Regions from separate parts of the Homo sapiens genome. Here all the other regions are linked to region 1. Evidence: promoter capture Hi-C in human tissues and cell types (Jung and others, 2019). All regions are on one chromosome and are shown on one strand. Each heading gives the region's core, a stretch centred on a gene start or on the middle of the fragment in contact. The rest is flanking DNA. Distances are from core to core; before and after follow the strand shown. Region 1 holds the start of TPM1 (tropomyosin 1). Region 2 overlaps RAB8B (RAB8B, member RAS oncogene family). Region 3 overlaps TLN2 (talin 2). Region 4 overlaps LOC101928972 (a long non-coding RNA gene).

What was found. Contacts are between HindIII fragments. The study calls those that stand out against the background at their distance.
Region 2: a fragment that was not itself captured here is called in contact with the fragment with the promoter of TPM1 in region 1 in 1 of the 25 tissues and cell types used here (dorsolateral prefrontal cortex).
Region 3: a contact is called between a fragment that was not itself captured here and the fragment with the promoter of TPM1 in region 1, in 5 of the 25 tissues and cell types used here (bladder, dorsolateral prefrontal cortex, heart right ventricle and 2 more).
Region 4: a contact is called between a fragment that was not itself captured here and the fragment with the promoter of TPM1 in region 1, in 1 of the 25 tissues and cell types used here (lymphoblastoid cells).

Annotation. Positions count from the first base shown.
Region 1 is chr15:63,041,287-63,043,996 of GRCh38, reverse strand. It overlaps TPM1 (tropomyosin 1), which reads right to left and starts at 1,250. Exons shown (of 10, transcript NM_001018005.2): 1 at 1,054-1,250. The coding sequence starts at 1,167. RefSeq lists enhancers at 1-478, 1,392-2,306. The HindIII fragment of the contact is 3,976 bases long and covers 188-2,710 here.
Region 2 is chr15:63,263,599-63,266,308 of GRCh38, reverse strand. It overlaps RAB8B (RAB8B, member RAS oncogene family), which reads right to left. Exons shown (of 8, transcript NM_016530.3): 8 at 1-2,710. The coding sequence ends at 2,690. Among named protein-coding and RNA genes, the nearest start is that of APH1B, 13 kb to the left of the region's middle. The HindIII fragment of the contact is 4,184 bases long and covers 1-2,710 here.
Region 3 is chr15:62,830,087-62,832,796 of GRCh38, reverse strand. The region is part of intron 54 of TLN2 (talin 2); the gene reads right to left. It overlaps LOC105370854 (a long non-coding RNA gene), which reads left to right. Exons shown (of 7, transcript XR_007064671.1): 7 at 1-2,710. Among named protein-coding and RNA genes, the nearest start is that of MIR190A, 7.5 kb to the right of the region's middle. The HindIII fragment of the contact is 3,371 bases long and covers 1-2,710 here.
Region 4 is chr15:63,177,279-63,179,988 of GRCh38, reverse strand. LOC101928972 (a long non-coding RNA gene) reads left to right here. Exons shown (of 4, transcript XR_932355.4): 4 at 1,674-1,922. Among named protein-coding and RNA genes, the nearest start is that of RAB8B, 11 kb to the left of the region's middle. The HindIII fragment of the contact is 8,403 bases long and covers 1-2,710 here.

The sequences.
Region 1 (2,710 bases), core at 1-2,500:
AGGGGGGTGCAGCAGGCAGCGTGATCCCGAAGGGGAGGGGTGTGGGTGCACAGAACCAGAAGGACAGGGACAGCGGGAGAGACAGAGGGAAAGACAGGGAGGGAGAGAGAGAAAGAGAAAGAGTTAGCCATTCGTGCGCCACGCCGTGCCGCGCGCCCCGGGTACCTTGGCGGCGGCCTCTTCGGCGGCCAGGAGGCTGTCCTCCGCCTTGTGCAGCTCCTCCAGCACCCGGTCCCGCTCGTCCTCCGACACCCGCAGCAACTTCTCCTTGGCCGCGATGTCCTCCTCGAGCTGGGGGCAGCGGCGGGCGGGCGCGGGCGGCCGGCACGGACCGGGTGTTAGACACACACAACACACGGGCGTCGGGTTGGCTGGGGCCCCTCGGGCTCGGGGCGCCGCCGAGTTGGAGTGCAAAGGACCCGAGGTAACTTCCTCTTTACCCGAGCTGGAACCGCTCCGCGGCTCACCCCGCACACCCACCTGCCCTGGGACGAGACTCCTGCCGAGGTCTCAGCGGGCTCAAGTCCACTACTTGGGGACACAGAAGAACGCCACTGCTGGCCTGGCTTTCGGGCTGTAGCCTCCATTCCGCCCCATCTTTGTTCTTAGGTAACAACTCCAGGACTCCCTTCTCCTCCCCAAGTTTAAGGTTCCTTTCTCCCCAGTCAAAAGTCAACGAACTTCTAACACTTGAGTTACTCGACCCCCTTTCTCCATCCCTCGCCCTTCCTTCAAACGTCCCCAGGAACCGGGTGTCCTCCTCCCTCCCCCAAACTGATTCCCAGTCCTGAGAATAAAGCGCCTCTAGGACTTGATTTCGCGGGCCATGGGAACCAGAGAAGGGAAATAAGCGTCCTCAGACCAGACTAAGTTAGACTAAGCCTGGCTCTTGCGTTTCCCTTCCTTCTTTCCAGACGCGCGCCCTGGCCGCCCTGGGTGGTGGTGGGGGTAGGGTGGTGGCTCCCCGAGTCCTCGGGGTGGGGATCCAGCCGGGGGTGCCAGGCTCGAGTCCCGGCGCTCTGGGCGCGGGCGCAGGGCCGGGGAGGCGCAGACCTGCTTGCTCCTGTCTTCCGCCGCCTTCTTGTCGGCCTCCGCCTGCTCAGCTCGATCCAAGGCGTTCTCCTTGTCGAGCTTCAGCATCTGCATCTTCTTCTTGATGGCGTCCATGGTGGCGGCGGCGAGGGGCCCTGGGGCTGCAGCAGGAGCGGCGGGGCGAGCGCGCGGTCGGGCGGAGGAGCGGGAGTGCGAGCGCGGAGCCGCCTGCTTCTCCCAGATATGTACTTTCCCAAGGGGGCGACCGCATTCCTCAAGACAGCCAATACTTTTTTGGAAAAGCTTTTTTCTCCTGCCCCCCTTCCTCCTCTCCTCCCTCCGCCCCGTGCCCCCTCCCCGCTCCTCCCGCGGGGGCCGCTCGCCCATTCGCTGCCGGCCGCCGGCCTCCCAGTTGACGGTGGATATGACTATATATGGGGACCCGAGCCGCCGAGGCGGCGGCCGGAGAGGCCGCCCTGTTTCTAAACCTGCGCGCCAGGGAGAGGGCGTTGGGGCCGAGCCGGGGCCGAGGCGCAACCCTCCGCCCTCCGCGTGCCCTTCTCCCAGGGCCGGCACCCAGCCATTAGGGTCCCCAACCGAGCCCGCCCTGAGCTGCCGGAGGCCGGGAGAGCGCGGACCAGGTGGTGGATGCGCGTCGCCCCCCTGTGCCGTCCCCCGGCGCGCTTAGCCAAAGGCCCGGGGGCTTCCCAGCCGTGCTGCACCCCGCGTCAGGGTCAGTGCGCTCTCGGCACCCGCCAGCGCCTCCCCGGCAGCTCTCAGCCAGCCAGGTGTCATCCTGCGCGCTCACGCTCTGGAAACTCAACTGCAGCAGAGAAAGGGAGAACGTGGGAGAAAGCCTGGGGCGGCTCTTGAGACTTTCTCTGCGGGCGCGGGTCAGAGAGGCAGGGGGCGGCACAGCGACAGCACACGGAGTCTTGTTTTCTGCCTGCCCTTTCCCCCAGCGGAGGGACAGTCAAATACTTTAGGGACACAGGACTCAGTGGCGTACTTCTGTGCTTGCTGTGCAGTGCCTCCAAAAAGGTGTGCATGTGTGCGTGTGTGTGCGGGTGGCAGTCTAAGGGGAAAGAACATTGAGTTTAGACTCAGGCAATTTGGTCTGTGGTCTCTACTCTGCCACCAGCAACTGTGAGACCTTGTTTGCTGCCCGCGGCTTCCTCAACTTTAAATCCAGCGGGTAGATAATCCCCGAGGTCCCTCCAGATATAACTTGTTATCATTTTTCTTGCACTGATTTTAGGGAGTCGGCCTTCCATGTTAGATGCTTAGGTGCCAGGTTTCGGAAAACATGGGATCGGCGTTAACCTGGCTAAGTCATTGCATCCGCAGCCGCAACTCTGAGGAGGCTCTGCCGTGTGAGCTGTGCTTGGAAGGAGGAGGATTTCCCCCAACACTTCTTATTTTTAACTACTCCTCCCATCTCCCAAGGGGGAAAGGCTGCTTTTTTTCAGAGCTTCAGTGGGAGGGGAGGAGAGGGGGCTGCCCCCAAGCCCTGAGATCAGCTGAGGCAGGGTTGGTGAGGGTCTTGTTAATAGTCCCCACAGAATAATTCACAGTCTGTACTGCATGGTTACCAAATATTCCCCGGACGGTATCTGAGCAGATTAGGCAGGCCAAACAACTTGTAAGTCCTTCAGAGAATGATCAAATTCCTCTCCAA
Region 2 (2,710 bases), core at 120-2,619, 220 kb before region 1:
AGCACATTTTCACTGTCTGATACCCTCAGACTCTATTTGAAAAGGTCTAGTCCAATCACTGTCAAAAATTAACACACTGATTAATAAAGTGCAGCCACTGAACCACTAATACTGCTGCAAAAATCTTCATGTACCTTATCCATAAGACCACAAAAATGTTCACAAAAAAACTAGATTTCTTCAGTTTCAGCGGGGAACAGACAATTATCTGTCATTAAATTCATCTACAAATAGAAAAAATAATGCACTGTATGTACATTATTAAGCAAAGTGGAATATTTATTGGGTCATTTTATCATGCAGAAAGTGAATTTCCTAAGGTCTTAGCTCAATGTATATACAATCTAGCAAAGCTAAATGTAAGAAAATAGCAAGGACAATTTATTTCTATATAACAGAGCATATACTCCCAATTTGCTGCTACTTCAAAGAGCACTTTTAGACTCATCTAACTTTTACAGGCTCTTTCAAGTGAAGTTCATGGAGACTAGTTATTAATCCATATAAGACAAAAGAAGAAAGAAGAAATATAACCAAAGCAAAGCATTCTGTTAAAAAAAAAAGTAATAAAAGCTAACCACAGAATATGTCAGTTTTGGTTTGCAGACAACCCCTGAGATTATATAAACCAAAGCGTTAAGACACCAAATAGTCAGAGGTAAATTACTAAGAGAATTACATTCATACATGGTGTCATAGCACTTATCTTTTAGAAGGTACTTTGTTACCATCCAGAAAGCGTTAACTGCTTGGATTTTTTCAGGAAATAGTGAATATTAAGATGTTTCTAAAAAATTATCTTTTCCTTTTGAAAATGTATCTAATTTGAAGATAGTAGAATTACAATAAACTTTCAATCACGGAACTACTAATTATACTAGAACAGCAACGAATGACTTTTAAGCCTATAGGTAATTACCAAAAAAAAAAAAATTAAGGAGGCTGAAATTTGTCAACAATAAGTTTAGTATATCTATTAAAAATAGCTTGGGCATATTTGCAGCTGCTAAATTGTTCCTATATTTTCAAATAAGTACAAAAGATTGACTGGTCCAAGCATTCTAATGACATATCTTAATTTGAAGAGAATTCTCTGTGGTAACAAGCAATCCCTTTCCACTGCCATCTCCTGTTCTTATCTATCCAGCATGATAGTAGCCTTTGTGAAGCAAAACAGGCATACCAGGAAGAATAATTATTAACAGAATTCATTTCCCTCATCCCCTCTGTTTTATCCCCCCTGTGTTATGACACTGAAGGCTAGAGCAACAACGACATAGTGATCTGAATTTGGCACACAAGTTAACACTAAATACCTTGTGATGGTTTCATCTACAAAAGTATACCAGTACCAGTGTTTGTTGAGAAAGGCAACTAAGCTTTTGGTTGGCTTTAGCCCAAATGACTGGACTAAGTTCTGTAACAATGAACCAAAACAGATGGAACTGGGTTCTACACAATCAACAACAGCTGTTTGAAAACTGAAACCTTGGTCCTGTTTTCTCTAATGAAAAGGCAAGACTTTTCCTAGAGGCTGCACTAGGTCTAAGTACTTTTATTTCTAAAAACATCTGCCAAATAAAACCAACCAAAACTCATTATTTTCACCATTACCAAGAGCTAGCTCTATTAAATTTATATCAACAAGTTAATCTGTCTCTATATAGGGAAGGTTTCCGCAAACTAAAATCTAAACCTAACTTTTGTAGACAGGGATTATGGTAGGAATTTGGTATTACAACTAAACCAGCCAGCTAAGGAGTGAACCTAAGAAAAAATATATTACATATCCTTATTGACAGAATCACAGTTAGATGCTGCACTAAAACCCTAAATGGTATATCTCTCAGCCCACGTAAAATTTCAGCTCAAGAAGTTCACAAATAGAAACAGATAATAATGTTCAAATATTACTTAAGAGTGATTACACTTAAGTCAAACATGGGAAAGAATAGCAAATACAAACCCCAGGGAAAAATGAGATTATGGTGATTTCCAAATGCAGTTTCTATAGATTAGGCAGAGGTAATCATTTTAAAGTGATTCATTCAGCTACCCAGACTCTGGAAAACAGGTCGGGGATGAGGCAAAGCTCTTAATCTGAAGAAATAAAGAAATTGTGGCCTTTGATGACAAGATGGGCATTTCAGTAAATTTTTTTAATGACTTTAATGATTCTTATTTAAGAAAAAGCCCTTAAATAAATGCTACCAAGGCAGTAATATTTGACCATATGAACCAGACCAAATACCCTTTAATTTTAGTATATTAACCTCTGCTGTAAATGCTCTTTTAACATTGCCACATGTACAAATTTGTCTAGAACTTCACGACACAAAAGTGTGCAAATATGAGTCTAAGATTGTGCTGAAATAGGGAAAGGCTAACACTGATGTGCAAAGTAAAAAAGAAAGATAACCGCTTCTGCAACAGGTAATAAAACAAGGAAAAAACGAGTTAGGTCCTGCATGTGTCTCCACTTCATTGCTTCCATGTTTGAAAAAGGGAGTCTGTTCTTTTGCTAGGCCATGAGGCTGGAATCCACTTGGCATACTGTGTTGAGAGGTCTAAGTTCAGTGGTGCTCTCAGCAGCAGCCGGGAGGTGTGATTCTGAGGCTGGGTGACCTGTGCTTTCAGAGAAGCAGGAAAGGGCCCTCTAGGTGTGCTGCAGTCTCTCAGAAAGAGTTCATCAAAGTAGCGAGCAACGAAA
Region 3 (2,710 bases), core at 120-2,619, 210 kb after region 1:
GTAAAAATCAAAGCCAAACAGCACTGGCATTTCTGTGGCTGAGCACTGAGAGAGTTATAGACCAAGCACACATTGCCCAGTGGTGAAAAAGAAACCAGGGCAACACGACATCAAGGTGGAGCTTGTTCTGTCCTCTGGACACCCGAGGCACGGGATCCACCTTGGGAAGAACACTGGACACCACTGTGTAGGTGTTATCAGACCATTAGGGTTCTGGTCTAAATTCACCACCATCTCCTTTGCTGCTAAAACAACTCAGGAAGTTGAAAAGAAGCTTTGGAGAAGTGGAACAAGTATAAAGACTGTGGTCCCAGGCTCATGGGTTGGAGCATCACAGTTTTGCCGGGGGGTGGTCAGATTAGACCTGTGTGACAACATTCCGTGACTCTAGGTCAATTTGGTTAAGCTGCCCTCAGGTCACACAGTGTTGAAGATGTGGGTGGTACCTTTCAGGCATTGAGAGATGATGGCCAGGCCCAGCAATACTTTTCTCTGTATGTGTGGTAAAATATATGTAACACAAAACTTACCCTTTTATCCAATTTTAAGTGTACAATTCAGTGGCATTACGGACATTCACACTTTGTGCCAACAGTAGTAGATTTTTAAGAGTGCCTACTGTGTACCAAGTATTTTGTTAGGCACTTCTACATACAATGACTTAATTCTCACCAAAAAAAAAAAAAAAGATCGTATATTGGAATTATCTTTATCCTTATTTTTACAGTGAGAAAACCCAGGCTCAGGAAGGTAGATGATTGGGCCAAGGTGATGTGGCAGCATGAAGCATCTAAACCAGAATCTAAACCTAAATCTGACTCCAAAATGAGGCACTTTAACTAGCCAAAGCCACCCCTTGGGGCATCAGTGAGAAACGGTTTGTGCCAGAGGTTCAAAGTCAGCTTGCTAACGCTCCCATGTGAAACGTCAGACAGGAGGGATACAAGTCTTCTCCAGCTCTCCATTCATAATGCCACATCTTGAACCATGAAAGGTGCTAATCCTTTTTCTTTATAACCTACATTATCAAAATACAATTTCAATGCACTTCTAATGGATCTGAATGATGGTAGCATTTCAGAAGTTCTGAGACAGACTTGTGCATTCTTTCTTATTGCTGACCAAGTCTTGCTCTAAGAGTATTCAGGACAGACATGAATTTAGTTCTACTGGACTCATTTTGGACTGGTGGAGTATAGAATTTGGTGACTGAAATACGGAAATGATCCATTGTAAGACACTCTCGTATAAAAGGAACTCTTGTGTAGTCAGTCCCCAAATAAATTATAGTAGGCTCTAATTTATATATATTAAATATATAAATAATGTATATTTTAATAACCGTGAGATTAAGAGCTTTTCTGGAAATTCATTCTGCCAAAGAATGTCAGGCACATAACAGATTAAAGCACCAGGGAAATCACAGAATTTTTGACTCCAAACTCCTCATCTCATTTTGCAGATGAGGAAACGGAGGCTTGTGGGAGCTCTTCATGGCGGCTCCTGAAGTCTCTCACGCTCTTGCCTCAGGTGTCCTCAGCTACTCTATGGGTTCCACGCCCGAGTCCACTTTACAGTGTGGAATACTCTGTCAGACTTTTTATTTCCCAAATTTTAAGATTTTCAAAAATGGAATTTCTTTAAAATTAAGTGCTACGTCTTTAGCAGGGGTAGATCTGATAGGATCATCTCATCACAACTGATTTTACGAGCCTCTCCCACATCTTCCGCTGCCTGGAGTTTTTTTTTTTTTTAAACACAAGCTTGTAATAATAGATATTCAACTTGGAAATATTTTTGACACCCACAGATTTTTCTGGTAATGGCAACTGTTGTAATGTTCTTTGACGAATTTTTATTTTTCTTCCCACAACATCTCTATGCTTTAAAACAGATACGGCAGAAGTTCTTATCTCTGGGAGACATTTGCTCTGATAAGAAAGTATTAAGATTCTCCCTAGAAAGGCTGACTGGGATGGCACAGGGATGGAGGGCTAATGTTAGATACTACAGTTTGGGCAGAGTACCCTGATGAAACCTGCCTTCTGACTGCTGTGTCCCTATTTTCCTGTATGCCAGGTTTATGACTAAGACGCACTGCCCACCCTACCTCTACTGCTGAAATCAGACACCAATACTTAACGTGTCCTCATACCATACAACTTCTAGCCTTAGAGAAAATGGCATCTCTCCAAGCCAAGGAGACATGGTCAAAAACCCAGGTGCCCCATCAGTTCCAGCTCCCATTAGCATGCAGAATGGAATAGGGGAGAAGGTAGGAAGGACACACACTTAACCATATCACAAGAAGGAAACAGAATTGGCTTGGTCTTCAAAGGACTTTCCTAAATAAAAGAATCCCAATTAAAATGCAGAATTTGTTAATGGAACAGTCCCCACTGCAGCTGAGAGACTGGGGAGACTAAGAAGAACAACATGGTGCACAGTGACTCCGGGGAAGAATCTGCAGGCTGGGCCCTCTCCTGGAGCTCTCATTCTCACCTTCTCACCAGAGAGGCTCACCTGGTTGGTGTCTTAAGGCCCTCTTTAGCTGAGATGTTACTGACCTGACCAGGGTCAGTCAGATCTCTCCTTCTGGTTTATAAAGGGGATAACGGAATCCTCGCTTCTGGGTGTTTCATTCTTTCCACAATTGGATCATGTAAAGACCCGCTAAAATAATCTTTTAAAGATTATGACTAATCCTGTG
Region 4 (2,710 bases), core at 156-2,655, 140 kb before region 1:
GGGAGGCCAAGGCAGGCGGATCACGAGGTCAGGAGATTGAGACCATCCAGGCCAACATGGTGAAACTCCGTCTCTACTAAAAATACAAAAATTAGCTGGGCGTGATGGTGCGTGCCTGTAATCCCGGCTACTCGGGAGGCTGAGGCAGGAGAATCGCTTGAACCAGGGAGTTGGAAGTTGCAGTGAGCTGATATCACGCCACAGCACTCCAGCCTGGCAACAGAGCGAGACTCCGTCTCAAAAAAAGAGGCCATAAAAACCAATGTCTAGGCCGGGTGCGGTGGCTCACACCTGTAATCCCAGCACTTCGGGAGGCTGAGGTGGGCAGATCACGAGGTCAGGAGTTCGACACCAGCCTGGCCAACGGGGAGAAACCCCGTCTCTACTAAAAATACAAAAATTAGCCGGGCGTGGTGGCGGGTGCCTGTAATCCCAGCTAGTCAGGAGGCTGAGGCAGCAGAATTGCTTGAACCCAGAGGCAGAGGTTGCAGTGAGCCGAGATTGCGCCACTGCACTCCAGCCTGGTGACAGGGCGAAACTCCATCTCGAGAAAAAACAAAACAAAAATCCAATGACTATAGAGATGTATTCCAGGGTTTCTCAAAATGTGTACCTCAGAACGCTAAGTGAGTCAGCAGATGCTAGCAGGTGATACAAGAAGAAAAGATTTCAGGGCTAAGCTTTTTGAGAAATGCTGCTATCAGTTGTTTAGATGGTGCGGCTTCTCTGACGTCAGTATGCAGAGGCGCAGCTGTGAGTCTCCACCGCAAGGTGTGGCACACGGCTTTTCCCACACTCCATTCTGATGGCGCATCTTATGGGGCTTGTGTCCTCAGACTGTATGTTAGGAAACTCATTTAATCCAAACCCTTTTTTTTGCTTGTTTGTTCGTTTTTTGTTTTTGTTTTTTTGAGACAGAGTCTCACTCTATCGCCCAGGCTGGAGTGCAGTGGCGCCATCTCGGCTCACTGCAGCCTCTGCCTCCTGGGTTCCGGCGATTCTCCTGCCTGAGCCTCCCGAGTAGCTGGGACTACAGGCGCCCGCCACCACACCTGGCTAATTTTTTGTATTTTTAGTAGAGATGGGTTTCACCATATTGGCCAGGCTGGTCTTGAACTCCTGACTTCAGGTGATCCACCCGCCTTGGCCTCCCAAAGTGCTGGTATTACAGGCGTGAGAGCCACCGCACTCGGCCCTTATTTTTATTTTTATTTTTTTTAAATTTATTTATTTTGAGACAGGGTCTCTCTCTGTCACCCAGCTTGGAGTGCAGTGGCATGATCTTGGCTCACTGCAACCTCTACCTCCCAGGCTCAAGGTATCCTCTCACCTCGGCTCAAGGTATCCTCTCACCTGGGCTCAAGGTATCCTCTCACGTCGGCTCAAGGTATCCTCTCACCTCGGCTCAAGGTATCCTTCCACCTCAGCTGGGACCACAGGCCCGCACCACCACGCCCAGCTAATTTTTATATTTTTTTGGTAGAGATGGGGTTTCACCATGTTGCCTCGGCTGGTCTCAGACTCCTTGCCTGAAGTGATCTACCTGCCTCGGGCTCACAAAGTGCTGAGATTAGAGGCTAAGCCACCCCTCGAAACCTAACCCCTTAGTTTTAGATATGAAAACACTAAATAGCAAAGTCCTACTATCAAGTTGAAAATCAGCATGTTTACAGGAAGCTGTGAGGAAAGACGGCAGCATCCATTCCCAGAATTCCTGACAGACTGGACTGAGAACACCCGTCCCTGCTCCCAGGCTTCTCCTGAGTCCCAGGGCAGGGCTCCCTGCTGCCGCCTCTGTCACTGTCAGATCCACAGAAAGATCAGAGAAGAGGGTGGGGCGCTGTGATGGCTCTCTCTCCTCCACACCTGGGGAAGCTGCTTCACCCTCAAGCTCTGGGGGACTGGCAGATGTTGTACTAACCTGAAATTAAAATCATCTGTGCAGAAGCATATTTACCCAGAATTCTGAATGAACATTCTGTATATTGTGTTTTTGAGAAAAAGACTAATGTCAAGTAATTAAACTAACTGGCATTTTTTGCTTTGTATTGTTCTGTATTTTGAATGAATTATAGGCTAGGTTAGAGGGTCATATCACACCCAGGCTAATTTCCCACATTGACATTTAAAGTGCTGTAAAAATGATCTGCACAATGAAGTGTTTTTACAGAGAAATTATTTGAATTTCTTGAGGGCATGAATTATATTTACATTGTATCCCTAATGACTGACTAACACAGGCTTGGCATATATTAGCCACATAGTGACAAATATGTTTGCATTAATTAGTAAATTACAATCTAATGAGCAGGTTTTAATAAAATTAAATAATGGTAATAATTCACTCACAGCACTAATGGAATCCTACCTTTTCAGATTAATTGACTTATCATGGTCAAGGACCATGAATTCTGGTTAAGGCTTATTAACAGAGGCTATTTGACAGTTTTCACTTGTAATCTCTTGGTTTCATAAACATGTTTCATTCAGGTGATAATAAATGAGATCATTTCTATATTTGACTCTTCAATACATACACACAGAATTGGAATGAGCTGGTAGTTATCAAGTCCTATCTTCCAGGCACTGCAGAATTCCCCTTTCAACCACTTGGTCTGTGTTTAAACATCCCCATAGATAACACACATAATAACAACCTTGAAGAAATGTGTGATCCTGGAGGGCCTTCTGAGTCATCACAGGATTAAGT